Linked DNA regions of Homo sapiens: all the other regions are linked to region 1. Evidence: promoter capture Hi-C in 16 types of primary human blood cells and fetal thymus (Javierre and others, 2016). All regions are on one chromosome and are shown on one strand. Each heading gives the region's core, a stretch centred on a gene start or on the middle of the fragment in contact. The rest is flanking DNA. Distances are from core to core; before and after follow the strand shown.

Region 1 (3,483 bases), core at 34-2,533:
TGGACCATCCCTCAAGAATATCAATCCCTGGCAAATAAACAACAGCCGTTGCTGGTGTGCACTCAGAAGAGGCCAGACTGGCTCTCCTGCCCTAGAGGAAGAGTGACCAGAGCAGCCCACAAGCAGGTACCCGGGACATGGATGCCCCGTGGACGGTCTCGGGAGGAGAGCTCAGGCCCCCCTGGAATCACCTCCCATGGCCTGTCCTCTGGGAATGCAGCAGAAAATATGGCAGGAAATATAGGGAGCTTCCCAGCTCTGGGAGTTAGATCTCACATCAGAGCCTGGAACTCCCCATCCCAACCCCCCCTCGGATACTCACAGCGCAGGCCCTGCTGCCCCCTGGTGGCCACATCCTGACCCTGCAAGCCTGAAAGTCCCATGGTTTGGCTAGGCACCCTGGGTGGCACAGTGGGACTGGAGACGGAGCTGCCCGCTCAGGGCAGGTCCTCTGGTGGAGTGCTGGGACCCCAGCCCCAGAAAGTGCAAGTAGCACAGATGACGCCCCAGGCCACCACCTCCTTGCAGCAGGAGGCTAGGGGTGAGAGGAGGCTGACCCTCTCTTCAAGGAGCTGCCATGGGTGAGGGGCAAGGAGGGTCCCTGCCAACATTTACCGAGTGCCCACCCTGTCCCTACACTTTGTTTTTTAAATTTTATGTATAGATATAGAGAGAGTTTGGGGCCTCGCTGTGTTGCCGAGGCTGGTCTGGAACTCCAGGCTTCAAGTGGTCCTTCTGCCTTGGCCTCTCAAAGAGCTGGGATTACAGGTGTGAGTCACCATGCCAAGCCCACTTTGTTTCTTTGAGGGATGTACACTTGACTGGAAACCTTAAATATTCTTCAGACGGAACACAAGGGTTTCAACCAAGGCTGTCACACAGGCTACACAGAAAACTAGAGCTCCCTGGATTCAGAGCGAGGAGAGGGAGAGATGGAGGAGGGGGACTGAGTTTGCTACAATGATGCCCCATGCACGTCCTTCCAGCAACTTACCATCCCACCCCATAGAAGGCCTGTTCTGGGAGGCAGCTGGATTCACCTGGCGGAAACTGCTGGAGTCCTTGGATGGCCTTATTCGGAGGTCCCAGCTTCCCCCTGTGACCTGTGGAGACCTCAGCCACCTGGAATGGCTGAGACAAGAATGCTGGCTTTTCTGTGCATGGGACACCATTGATTTGTCTTCCTCAGTATATGCTTCTGTACCCAGGACAGCAGTGATGTCCTGCAGGGAAGTGGGGACCCACTGGATCTTTTGCTCCATGGGCAACATCATAATACTCATTGCTAACAACGCTGGGATCCATGGTTCAAGAGATGGAGCCTGGAGATGTCCAGCTCAGTGGCAGCAGCAGACAGGACAGGGCAACCACGTCATCAGCCAGCACACAGCCTATACAGAGGTGAGAGGCCCCTTCTTGGTGGTGGCGATTCTTTCCTACATGGTGTGGTGTCAGTGACCAGGGTAGGCTGCTAGCCCACGGTGGAAGGGATCCTATCCACTAAGGCAGTCACCTCTGAGCCAGCCTGGGCAAGGTGAAAGATGTTATGAAGACCCAGCCGCACACCTTGACTTTTTTTTTCTTTTCTTTTTGAGACAGAGTCTCGCTCTGTCACCCAGGCTGGAGTGCAATGGTGCTATCTCGGCTCACTGCAACCTCTGCCTCCTGGGTTCCAGTGATTCTCCTGCCTCAGCCTCCCAAGTAGCTGGGATTACAGGTGCCTGCCACCATGCCTGGCTAATTTTTGTATTTTTAGTAGAGACGGGGTTTCACCGTGTTAGCCAGGCTGGTCCTGAGCTCCTGGCCTCAGGTGATATGCCCACCTGGGTCTCCCAAAAATGCTGGGATCACAGGTGTGAGCCACCGCACCCGGCCACACCTTGACCTTTTTGGTCTCTGAAGTCTTCAGCCCTGATCAGTCCAGCCAGAGCCACCAGGCCTGAGCACCAGGGTCTCTCTCTCTCTTTTTTTTCCTTCTGCCTCCCTACCCCTCAAGACAGGGTCTCACTCTGTCACCCAGGCTGTGGTACAGTGGTGTGATCATAGCTCACTGCAGCCTCGAACTCCCAGGCTCAAGTGATCCTCCCATCTCAGCCTCCCAAATAGCTGGCATTACAGGCAAGCACCAACACGCCCAGCTAATTTTCGTATTTTTTGTAGAGACGGTGTTTCGCCATGTTGCCTAGGCTGGTCTCGAGCTCCTGGGCTCATGCAATCCACCTGCCTCGGCCTCCCAGAGTGCTGGGATTACAGATGTGAGCCACCACACCTGGCCAAGGATTCCTTCTTATTTAAGTTTTTGTTTGTTTGAGACAGAGTCTCACCCTGTTGCCCAGGCTGGAGTGCAGGGGTGCAATCTCAGCTCACTGCAACCTCTGCTTCCCGGGTTCAAGCGATTTTCCTGCCTCAGCCTCCCAAGTAGCTGGGATTACAGTCACCAGCCACCAAGCTTGGCTAATATTTGTAGTTTTAGTAGAGACGGGGTTTTACCATGTTGCCCGGGCTGGGCTTGAACTCCTGACCTCAAGTGATCCACCCGCCTCAGCCTCCCAAAGTGCTGGAATTAAAGGTGTGAGACATCATGCCCGGCCTCATATTTACCTTTATGTGCTCCCCTGTGTACACGGGGCCTGGAACTTAAACCCATGATCTCCTGTCCCCAGTCCAAGTGGCCCAGTGACTCAGGGAACCCTAAGTCAGGACAGGAGGCACTACAGATGCAAGGGAGGGTGCCAGGTAGGGCCAGGCTGCGTCTGGAGCCCACCCCTCTGAGGTGTTACCACAGTCCAGTGTCTGATCACCCCCTTTGCAGATTCAGAAACTCTTTATCTGGTCCCAAGCTTGCAAGAGTTTTCCGTTGCTTTTACAGTACTAGAGATTCCTTGTCCAAAGGGATCACTTATCACAATTGGAAAAACTTCCCCAAAAAGACAGCATGGGCTGGACATGGTGGCTCACATCTGTAATCCCAGCACTTTGGGGAGGCCGAGGCGGGCAGATCACGAGGTCAGGAGATCGAGACCATCCTGGCCAACATGGTGAAACCCCGTCTCTACTAAAAATACAACAATTAGCCAGCCACTACAGGTAGTGGGTACCTGTAGTCCCAGCTACTCCGGAGGCAAAGGCAGGAGAATCGCCTGCACCCAGGAGGCAGAGGTTGCAGTGAGCTGAGATCGCACCACTGTACTCCAGCCTGGCGACAGAGTGAGACTCCATCTCAAACAAAACAAAACAAAACAAAACAAAACAAAAACACAACATGGGGTTGTGGAAAGAAAAGTCAAGTAGCCAGGTGCAGTGGTTCATACCTGTGGTCCCAGCTACTTGGAAGGCTGAGGCTGGAGGATTGCTTGAGCCCAGGAATTTGAGGCTGCAGTGAGCTATGACAGTGCCACCACACTCCAGCCTGGGTGAAAGAGTGAGACCCCATATCTAACAACAACAACAACAAAAATCAGAAAAAAGAAAAGTCAAGCACAA
Region 2 (3,184 bases), core at 124-2,623, 160 kb before region 1:
GCGAGTTGGATATGAGGTTGGAAACACAAAAGACAAGATTATGAAGGCCATAATCCTCAGGAGAGGAGAGTTGGGGAGGATGCTGCTGGGGCTGGGAAGACCTCTCCAGATGCCACTGCCATGATCCAGGCACAGATGAAGTTCTGACCTGTTGATGAGCTGTCACTGACAGAGCAAACCCCAAATGTCTGGCGTTGGACATACATCCAAGTCTTCTTTTAAATTTAAAAATAAATAATTTTTTGAAGACAGTGTCTCACTCTGTCACCCAGGCTGAAGTGCAGTGGTGGGCGATTATAACTCACTGCAGCCTTGAACTCTCAGGCTCAGGCGATCCTCCCACCTCAGCCCCCCAAGCAGTGGGGACCACAGGCATGCACCACCACTCCTGGCTAATCTTTTGCATTTGCAGACACAGGGTTTCACCATGTTGCCCAGGTTAGTCTGGAACTCCTGGGCTCAAGCGATCCTCCTGCCTCAGCCTCCCACAGCTTTGGAATTACAGGCATGAGCCACCTTGCCCAGCCTACACACATCCAAGTCCTATTACCACCTTCAAAGTAGAGCGTAGCATGACTGTCTTATGAATAAGGAAGCGATACTTGCAGAGGTTAAGCAACTCTGCCAGGGTTTCCCAACTAGTTCAGTGTCAAGTCTTTCTGCATCAAAGCTCACACTCTCTCTGATGTCATGCTGTCCTTGTGGCCTGCGATGGCAGAGACTGAAAGAAGAAAAAAAAAAACTGAGGAGCATCTCTAGGATAGAGCTGACTAAACTGGCTACCAATCAGCTCGGGGGCTGAAGGAGAGGACAGCATGAAAGAAGATGCCAAGCTCTTCCTGAAGGCTGGGTGGTGGAGCTGCTGGTTTGAAGAGAATCAAGTTGGTTCTGCTGATTGAATGCCATGTGAATTTCCAGTGGCTGCTGTAACAAATTAACATGAACTCTATGGCTTAGAACTGCACAATTTCATCATCTCATTGATGCTTCTGAAGACCAGAGCCTGGCGTGGTCTTACTGGTTAAAATTGAGGTGCAAGTAGGGTTGGGTTTCTTTAGAGCAGTGGTCCCCAACCTTTTTGGCACCAGGATCCGGTTTTGTGGAAGACAATTTTTCCACATCAGGAGTGGGGTGAGGATGGTTTGGGATGATTCAAACGCATTACACTTATTGTATACTTTATATTACTATTATATTATAATATATAATGAAATGATTATACACTGCACCATAATGTAGAATCAGTGGGAGCCCTAAGCTTGTTTACCTGCAACTAGATGATCCCATCTGGGGGTGATGGGAGACAGTGACACATCATCAGGCATTAGAGTCTCATAAAGTGTGTGCAATCTAGATCCCTCACACACGAAGTTCACAATAGGGTTCTCACTTCTATGAGAATCTAATGCGGCCGCTGGTCTGATGGGAGGCGGAGATCAGGTGGTAGTTTGAACAACGGGGAGTGGCTGTAAATACAGATGAAGCTTCGCTTGCTTGCCCACCGCTCACCTCCTGCTGTAAGGTCCGGTTCCTAACAGGCCATGGGCTGTTACTAGTCTGTTGTCCTGGGGTTGGGAACCCCTATTCTAGGGGAGAATCTGTTTCCCTGCATTTTCCAGCTTCTAGAAGCCATCTGCTTTCCTTGGCCGGTGGCCTCTTCTTCCACTTCAAAGCAGCAACAGACCATCTTCCAATTGGACTCTCCCTCAACCCTCTTTCACTTAGAATATCCATGGAGATTATTCGGGATATTCTTCCTGTCTCAAGGTCCTTAACTTCATCACATCGGCAGAGTCCCTCTGGCCATGTCAGGGGACATATTCGCAGGTTCTGTGTATGAGGATGCCAACAGCTATGGGGGACATTATTCTACCAACCACGAATGCAAAGTTCAAGAAAACTAACACAGCTTCAAGGAGAAGGCCCAAGCTGTGAGGAGGCGGCATCTGCCTGGAGAAATAGACCTGGCTTTCTCCACCCTGCAGAGACCCCTGGCCTGGGCCTGAAGCTCTGAGGCCAAGAGACAGTCAAGAGAGGCTTCCCCTGTGATTCTCTGCCTGTTTATCCACTTCTGCGTGATCAAGAAACCCGTGTCATTGCCAAGGAAAGAGCCTATCTACACACAGCCTAACTGGAGTCAATCAGCGGAGGCACGGACTGCCATTTGATTATGCTCACCTCTAACCTGTTCAGCTTTCACCAGGCCTTTGTTACTCTTGCCACATCCAATTGCTCCACTAGAAAAAAATACTGAAGAAGAGTAGTTCAGGGTGGGAGAGGAAGTGCATTCAATTCTGCAACGAAGGAATCTGGGGTGGAGACATCCAGTGTGTCTTTGTAAATGGTGGGCTAGCTAAGGGGAGTCTGAGCTGCAAATATGGATTTGGGAATCATCAGGAAACAGGTAATCATTAAAGCCATGGAAATGGAGAGACTCCCTCCATGGAGGCTTGTCAGGTGAGACAAGATGAAGGCTGGAGAGGGAACCCTGGGTACCCCCGCAGTGTGCTGGGGCTGGCTCACAGGAGCTGGCTTGGGACATCTTTTCCCAGCTCTGTGTCCAGTGACATCACATGGATTACCTGACATCTGCCACCGTGGGAGTATTTACACTATGGAATTTGGCAAATATTAAAACCAGATTTTTTTTCTTTTTCTTTTTCTAGACAAGAGTCTCACTCTGTTGCCTAGGCTGGAGTGCAGTGGTGCGATCTCAGCTCACTGCAACCTCCGCCTCCCGGGTTCAAGCAATTTTCATGCTTCAGCCTCCCGCATAGCTGAGACTACAGGTGACTGCCACCACGCCCAGCTAATTTTTGTATTTTTAGTAAAGACTGGGTTTCACCATGTTGGCCATGCAGGTCTCGAACTCCTGACCTCAGGTGATCTGCCCACCTTGGCTTCCCAAAGTGCTGGGATTACAAGTGTGAGCCACCGTGCCCAGCTCCTAAACCAGAGATTTTTTCCCCCAGAGGGCTGGTTGTTAAATATTTGGCTCCGATGAAAACAGCATTGAGAGGACAAGGAAAGAAGGTGGTAGGAGACCATGGTGTCACATGCTAAGCAGGTCTAGAAGCTGGTGGGGGAATGGACTGAGAGGGAGATGGGGATGAGGAATCGGGTGTGCTAGAGACACACTCGGGACTCTTAAACACCAAACTGGCTCAGGCAACAGGAGCTGTAT
Region 3 (3,456 bases), core at 171-2,670, 180 kb before region 1:
GCCCGAGTGGGGAGGGTGGCAGCACCAGTGTGAACCTGGATCCAGGAGGCTGGAGACACCTACCAGGTGCTGGGGCCTGCCAGGACCTGTGTGCAGAGGCCAGGTCAGGTGGGTGCCATCCTGTGACAGCAGGAGCCATTGGGAGTTCAGCAGCGCCTCCCCAGGGCCATGTGTGTGTGTCAGGGATCACATTGCTGATTCTGTGGAGAATGAAAGGGGTGGGTATGAGCAGAAGGGGAGACCAGGTCAGCCCATGAAAGAGCCGGGATACTTCAAAGCCAGGCCCAGGCCAGACCTGAGCACTGGGCTAATTGGAGGCCCTGGGATTGCACTGGGCTAGAGATAGTCCCATGATGTGAGTCTGGGGGCATCAACACCAATGACCCCAGTGCATGCTGTGTCCCTGAGAGTGTAAATGGAGGGAGGACAGGGCAGGTCGAGGGTGCAGAGACCCCTTCATGGTGCCAGGTTTGCCCAGACTCCCATCACTCTCCACTCAACCTCATGGCTGTGTGCACATACTGGTGCTATTGACTCTGATAGGAAGAAAGGAACAGAAATCTGTAGGAGGGTTGGGAGAGTCAAGGAATATGCTTAAGGCATGAGAAGGTGGAGAAGGGGTGATGCCCTCCAGGACAGACAGGAGGTAAATCCTGTGTCTGACTAGCCTCCTTGCCCTTTCCAGGGTAAAGACACCCTGAGCCCATCACGTCAGGAGAACCAGCCATGCCGAGTGTGGATAGACCTGGGTTCCCGCCTCCTGGGAAGGCCTGTCTGCCATGTCTGCTCCCTGCGGAGGCCCCTGGCCATCACAGTGGACCCAGGATAGACACCAGCAGCCGCTGCTCATGACAAACTGTCCTCTCAGTCACCAAACACCCCTCCGTGTGCCCTGGGGTGTGTGCTGGCTCAGTCGCAGCCTCACATCCTCCACAAAGTCCCACTTCAGCATCTTCACATGTCTGAACTCTCTCTCTATTCTCAGTTCTCTGCCCTGATTCCCACTGGGGCATGGATTTTGGCAAGAAGACAAGATGGAAAAGGAGGGTCTCGGGTGGGTGATGCCGCTGTGTGTGTAGGTCTGGGGGCAGGGGCACAAGAGGAAAACTCCCCAAGCCTGTGGGATTTTAACCTGGTTGGGGACTCAGCACCAAAAAGGGACATGCAGATGGTGTCTGGGTTCATAGCGCTAACTTCTGAGGCCAGAAGAAGAGCTGGGGGTCTTAGGGGCAGAGGTCTCTGCGGGGACCTAGCTGAAGATTAAGGGACACAACCTCTCTCTGGTCACCTCCAAGGCTAAAGAAGGTGGCAGATTTAGCCTCCAACCACAAGATTGTCCATCCTGACCAGGAAGTGACATGTCACAGAGGGTGGAGCAGCCCATGTGGTAGGAAATGGCCCAGCTTGGCTCTGCCTTCTGCAGTGTGAGTAACACACTGAAGCCAGAAGCTGTGGGCTGTGGGGAAGTGGCTGCATCGCCACCCAAGGGACCCTGGACTTTGCCAGACGTCAGGGTTGAGAGGAGCCACTAGCACCATCCCAGAGCTGTCAGCACCGGCCTCAGCCCAGGCGGCTCTCTCCCTGAGCTTCCTGTACCCTGACCCTCTCCAGCCTCAGACCTGAGACAGGGCTGGACAAGGAAGCAGAGAGCAGAAGAAAAGCAGAAGCGAAGCTCAGATCTGCTGGGAGGAGATTACATTTTGTCCCCTCCTGGGGTCTTGCACAGTGGCAGGTGACATTCGTGTTACAGGAATGACTGCCAGGGCCTGGGCCTCGTGGCGGTCTTCAGCTCTGCTCCTCCTGCTTGTCCCAGGTGAGTGGGCCGACCCTGGACTTGGGGAGCTCTGTCCTGAGTGGGAGAGGGCAGGGAGGGGTGCAGGCGCTGGAGTAGCGGTCATAGAGGGGAGTGGGGCAGGGAGAGGGGAGGAGGGCAAAGGAGCACCCAGGAGCGGTCAGCAGCTGCCTCACCAGGGGACAGCAGGCGGCAGGGCACAGCACGGGGGAGGCCTATTCCTCTGTGCCCGAGACAGGAAGCCCTGGTGGGAGGTGATGCTGTGACTGTCATTGCCAAAGTTATCCAATCACAAATTTTATCTGGGACGATCACACACACAGTCACACTCACACGCACACACGGTCACACTCACACAGTCTCACACACATGCACACACAGTCACACTCACACAGTCTCACACACACATGCACACAGTCACACATGCACACACAGTCACACTCACATGCACACACAGTCACACATGCACACACAGTCACACACAGTCACACTCACACAGACAGTCACACTCACACAGTCACACACACAGAGTCACACTCACATGCACACACAGGCCCGCACACACCCAGTGTTTCCCTAGCCTTGCCTTTCCAGTCTCCATGGAAACTTCCCATGCCCTTCCCACCTCTGCACAGAGGGAGCCTCCCACCCTCAGTCCCTGTTCCTGGGTGGACAAAGGCTGCCTGCCTGCCATTGCCTTCTCCACACGCCCAGGGTCCATGAGGGGCTGACACTGCGGCACCCCTGACCAGGCCCCTCTGGTAAGGAGACAGGATTTTGGCTTGTATTTTTCAGGCTATTTTCCTCTGAGCCACCCCATGACCGTGGCGGGCCCCGTGGGGGGATCCCTGAGTGTGCAGTGTCGCTATGAGAAGGAACACAGGACCCTCAACAAATTCTGGTGCAGACCACCACAGATTCTCCGATGTGACAAGATTGTGGAGACCAAAGGGTCAGCAGGGAAAAGGAATGGCCGAGTGTCCATCAGGGACAGTCCTGCAAACCTCAGCTTCACAGTGACCCTGGAGAATCTCACAGAGGAGGACGCAGGCACCTACTGGTGTGGGGTGGATACACCGTGGCTCCGAGACTTTCATGATCCCATTGTCGAGGTTGAGGTGTCCGTGTTCCCGGGTGAGCCCCTCCTTTTCTCAGCACCAGGCCTGCCTGAGCCTAGGGCTGGTCATTCTGTCCCTGAAGAAAGAAGTGGAACAGGAGGGTGTGAGCCTGGGGGTTGGTGAGTCAGGACACTGTGTGCCGCTGTGTGTGGATGAGTGTGAGTGCGTCTTTGTGTATGCGTGCCTGCATAGGAGTTGTGGTGTGGTTTGTGTGTGTGTGCACCTGCATGTGTGTGTTGGGAGGGTGGGCGCCCACAAAAGCACCCTGGCCCTGTGGCTGGAGACCCCCCGCTGTGGGCCCTCCCTCACGGCCTCAGGCCTGAAACTTTCCTGGGTGGGGTCTGTGAGGCCACCCCTGACTCTGGGGTCCTTGCTACCTCCCTGTATTGACAAGGGCCGGATCCATACTGAAGGGTGCCCACTGTCCCGCCTGGGTCTAACTCGCTCTTCCCCACGGGGAATTGGACCCCCCCATCATTGGCTCCTCTCACTCAAGGCTGCCCCTGCCCTGGGGCCTGCATGGATGCCGCCCTGTCTGGAGGGTCC
Region 4 (3,109 bases), core at 475-2,974, 140 kb before region 1:
AATAGCTGTTTTGAGGAAGCTCAGTGAAATCCAAGATAACTCAGAGAAGGAATTCAGAATCCTATCACATAAATTTAATGAAGAGATCAAAATAATAAAAAAGAATTAAGCAGAAATTCCAGAGCTGAAAAATGAAATAGACACACCAAAGAATGCATCAGAATCTCCTAACAGCAGAATTGACCAAGCCAAAGAAAGAATTACTGAGCTTGAAGACAGGTTATTTGAAAATACAGAGTCAGAGGAGACAAAAGAAAAAGAATGAGAAAGAATGAAACATGCCTATAAGATCTAGAAAATAGTCTCAAAAGGGCAAATCTAAGCGTTACTGGCCTTAAGAGAAGGTAGAGACAGATCAGGATAGAAAGTTTTATCAACGGGATAATTACAGAGAACTTCCCAAACCTAGATAAAGATATCAGTGTTCAAATACCAGAAGGTTCCAGAAACCAAGCAGATTTAACCCAAATAAGACTATCTCAAGACACTTAATAAAAAAACTCCCAAAAGTCAAGGATAAAAAAAAGGGTCCTAAAAACAGAAAGAGAAGAGAAATAAGTAACATAAAAGGGAGCTCCAAAACTTCTGGCAGTAGGCTTCTTGAGGGAAATCTTACAGGCTGGGAGAGAGTGGTATTTAAGTGTTGAAGGAAAAAACTTTTATCGTAGAATAGTATATCTAGTGAAAATACCCTTCAAACATGAAGGAGAAATACTTTCTCAGACAAACAAAAGTTGAGCAATTTTATCAACACTAGACCTGTCCTATAAGAAATGCTAAAGGGACTTGAGGTCAGGAGTTTGAGACCAACCTGGACAACATGGTGAAACCTGTCTCCACTAAAAATACAACAATTAGCAGGGCATGGTGGTGCATGACTGTAATCCCAGCTACTTGGGAGGCTGAGGCTCGAGAATCACTTGAACCCGGGAGGCAGAGTTTGCAGTGAGCTGAGATTGTGCCATGCACTCCAGCCTGGGTGACAGAGTGAGACTCTCCATCTTAAAACAAATAAATAAATAAAAATAAAAAAAGAAAGAAGTGCTAAAGGCTAAAGGGAGTTCTTCAATCTTAAAGAAAAGGATGTTAATGAGCAGTAAGAAATCATCTGAAGGTACAAATCTCACTATTAATAGTAAGTACACAGAAAAACAGATTCTAACCCCTGAAATTGTGTGTAAATCACTTATATCTTGAGTAGAAAGACTAAAAGAAGAACCTATAAAATATATAAAAAATAATAACTATGCTTTTTTTTTTTGAGATGGGGTCTTACTTTGTTGTCCAGGCCTGGAGTGTAGTGACATGACCTTGGCTCACTGCAACTTCTGCCTCCCTGGCTCAAGTGATCCTCCCACCTCAGCCTCCTGAGTAGCTGGGACTACAGGTGCACACCACTACACCCGGCTATTTTTTGTATTTTTAGGAGGGACAAGTTTTTGCCATGTTGCCCAGGCTGGTCTTGAACTCTTGGGCTCCAGTGATCTGCCCACCTTGGCTTCCAAAAGTGCTGAGATTACTGGTGTGAGCCACCGCACCCAGCCTAAAGCAACATTTAAGACATTGAGAGTATAATAAGGTATCAATAGAAACAACAAAAAATTAAAAAGTGGGGGGATGAAGTTCAAGTGTAGAGTTTTTTTCTATTAGCCTTATATTTGCTTGTTTGTTAGCTTGTTATTACAATCAGTGTTAAGTTGTCATCAGCTTAAAATAATGAGTTATAAGATATTATTTCCAAGCCTCATGGTAATATCAACTCAAAAACATACACATACAACAGATACACAAAAAATAAAAAGTAAGAAATTAATACATATCACCAGACAAAATCAGCTTCAGTAAAAAGAAGACAAGAAGAAAAGAAAGAAGGAAGGAAGAGAAGGCCAGAAAACAACCAGTAAACAAGTAACAAAAGGGCAGGAGTAGTCTTTAGTTATCAATAATAACATTGAATGTAAATGGACTAAACACTTCAGTCAAAAGACATGGAGCAGCTGAATGGATTAAAAAGAAAAACTAGACCCAAGATCTGTTGCCTACAAGAAACACACTTCACCTATAAAGACATAAATAGGTGAATTAAAGGAATCGAAAAAGATATTTCATGCAAATGGAAACCAAAAAAGAGTATGAATAGCTATACTTATATCACATTACATAGATTTTAAGACAAAACTATAAAAAGAGACAAAGAAGAACATTATATAATAATAAAGAAATCAATTCAACAAGAGGATATAGCAATTGTAAGTATATATGCACCCAACAGTGGAGCACTCAGATATATATTGCAAATATCTTTATAGCTAAAATAATATATCCTCAATACAATAATTGCTGGAGACTTCTACACTACACTTTCAGCATTGGACAGTGCATCCAGACAGAAAATCAACAAAGAAACGTTGGACTTAATCTGTACTATAGACCAAATGGACCTAATAGATATTTAAAAGAACATTTCATTCAGCAGCTGCAGATACACAGTCTTCTCCTCAGCACATGGATCATTCTCAAGGATAGACCATATGTTAGGCCACAAAACAGGTCTTGAAATATTCAAAATAATTGAAATCATATCAAGTGTCTTCAGTGACCACAAAGAATAAAACTAGAAATCAATAACAAGAAGAATTTTGAAAACTATACAAAACATGGAAATTAAACAATATGCCCCTGAATAACTAGTGGGTTAATGAAAAAAAGTAAGAAGGAAATTTAAAAATTTCTTGAAACAAATGAAAATGGAAACACAACACAATAAAATCTATGGGATACAGTGAAAGCAGTATTGAGTATCTACATCAAAAAAAGTAGAAAAACCTCAAATAAACAACCTAATGATGCATCTTAAAGAACTAGAAATGCAAGAGTGAAGCAAACCCAAAATTAGTAGAAATAAAGAAATAATAAAGATCAGGGCAGAAATAAATGAAATTGAAATGAAGAAAATGCAAATGCAAAAGATCAATGAAACTAAAATAAATGAAATGGAAATGAAGGAAATACAAAAGATCAATGAAACTAAAAGTCATTTTGTTGAAAAGATAAACAAAATTGGCAAGTCTTTAGCCTGACTAAAAAAGAAAAAAATAGAGAAGACCCA

What was found. Contacts are between HindIII fragments. The CHiCAGO score rates a contact against its expected background, and 5 or more counts as called.
Region 2: a fragment that was not itself captured here is called in contact with the fragment with the promoter of GPR142 in region 1 in 13 of 17 cell types (megakaryocytes, naive CD8 T cells, total CD4 T cells and 10 more); the score reaches 11.4 in megakaryocytes.
Region 3: the fragment with the promoter of CD300C here is called in contact with the fragment with the promoter of GPR142 in region 1 in 7 of 17 cell types (M2 macrophages, M0 macrophages, megakaryocytes and 4 more); the score reaches 6.8 in M2 macrophages.
Region 4: a contact is called between a fragment that was not itself captured here and the fragment with the promoter of GPR142 in region 1, in 1 of 17 cell types (fetal thymus). The highest score is 5.2, in fetal thymus.

What each region holds. Positions count from the first base shown.
Region 1 is chr17:74,365,306-74,368,788 of GRCh38, reverse strand. GPR142 (G protein-coupled receptor 142) reads right to left here and starts at 1,283. Exons shown (of 4, transcript NM_001331076.1): 1 at 995-1,283. RefSeq lists an enhancer at 1-669. The HindIII fragment of the contact is 12,679 bases long and covers 1-2,451 here.
Region 2 is chr17:74,526,193-74,529,376 of GRCh38, reverse strand. The region is part of intron 1 of CD300LB (CD300 molecule like family member b); the gene reads left to right. The region is part of intron 1 of LOC107985074 (a long non-coding RNA gene); the gene reads right to left. Among named protein-coding and RNA genes, the nearest start is that of CD300LB, 3.7 kb to the left of the region's middle. RefSeq lists an enhancer at 783-852. The HindIII fragment of the contact is 226 bases long and covers 1,261-1,486 here.
Region 3 is chr17:74,544,079-74,547,534 of GRCh38, reverse strand. CD300C (CD300c molecule) reads left to right here and starts at 1,420. Exons shown (of 4, transcript NM_006678.5): 1 at 1,420-1,813; 2 at 2,588-2,926. The coding sequence starts at 1,753. It also overlaps a transcript of LOC107985074 not described here. The HindIII fragment of the contact is 25,491 bases long and covers 1-3,456 here.
Region 4 is chr17:74,508,892-74,512,000 of GRCh38, reverse strand. No RefSeq gene overlaps it. Among named protein-coding and RNA genes, the nearest start is that of CD300LB, 21 kb to the left of the region's middle. The HindIII fragment of the contact is 7,162 bases long and covers 1-3,109 here.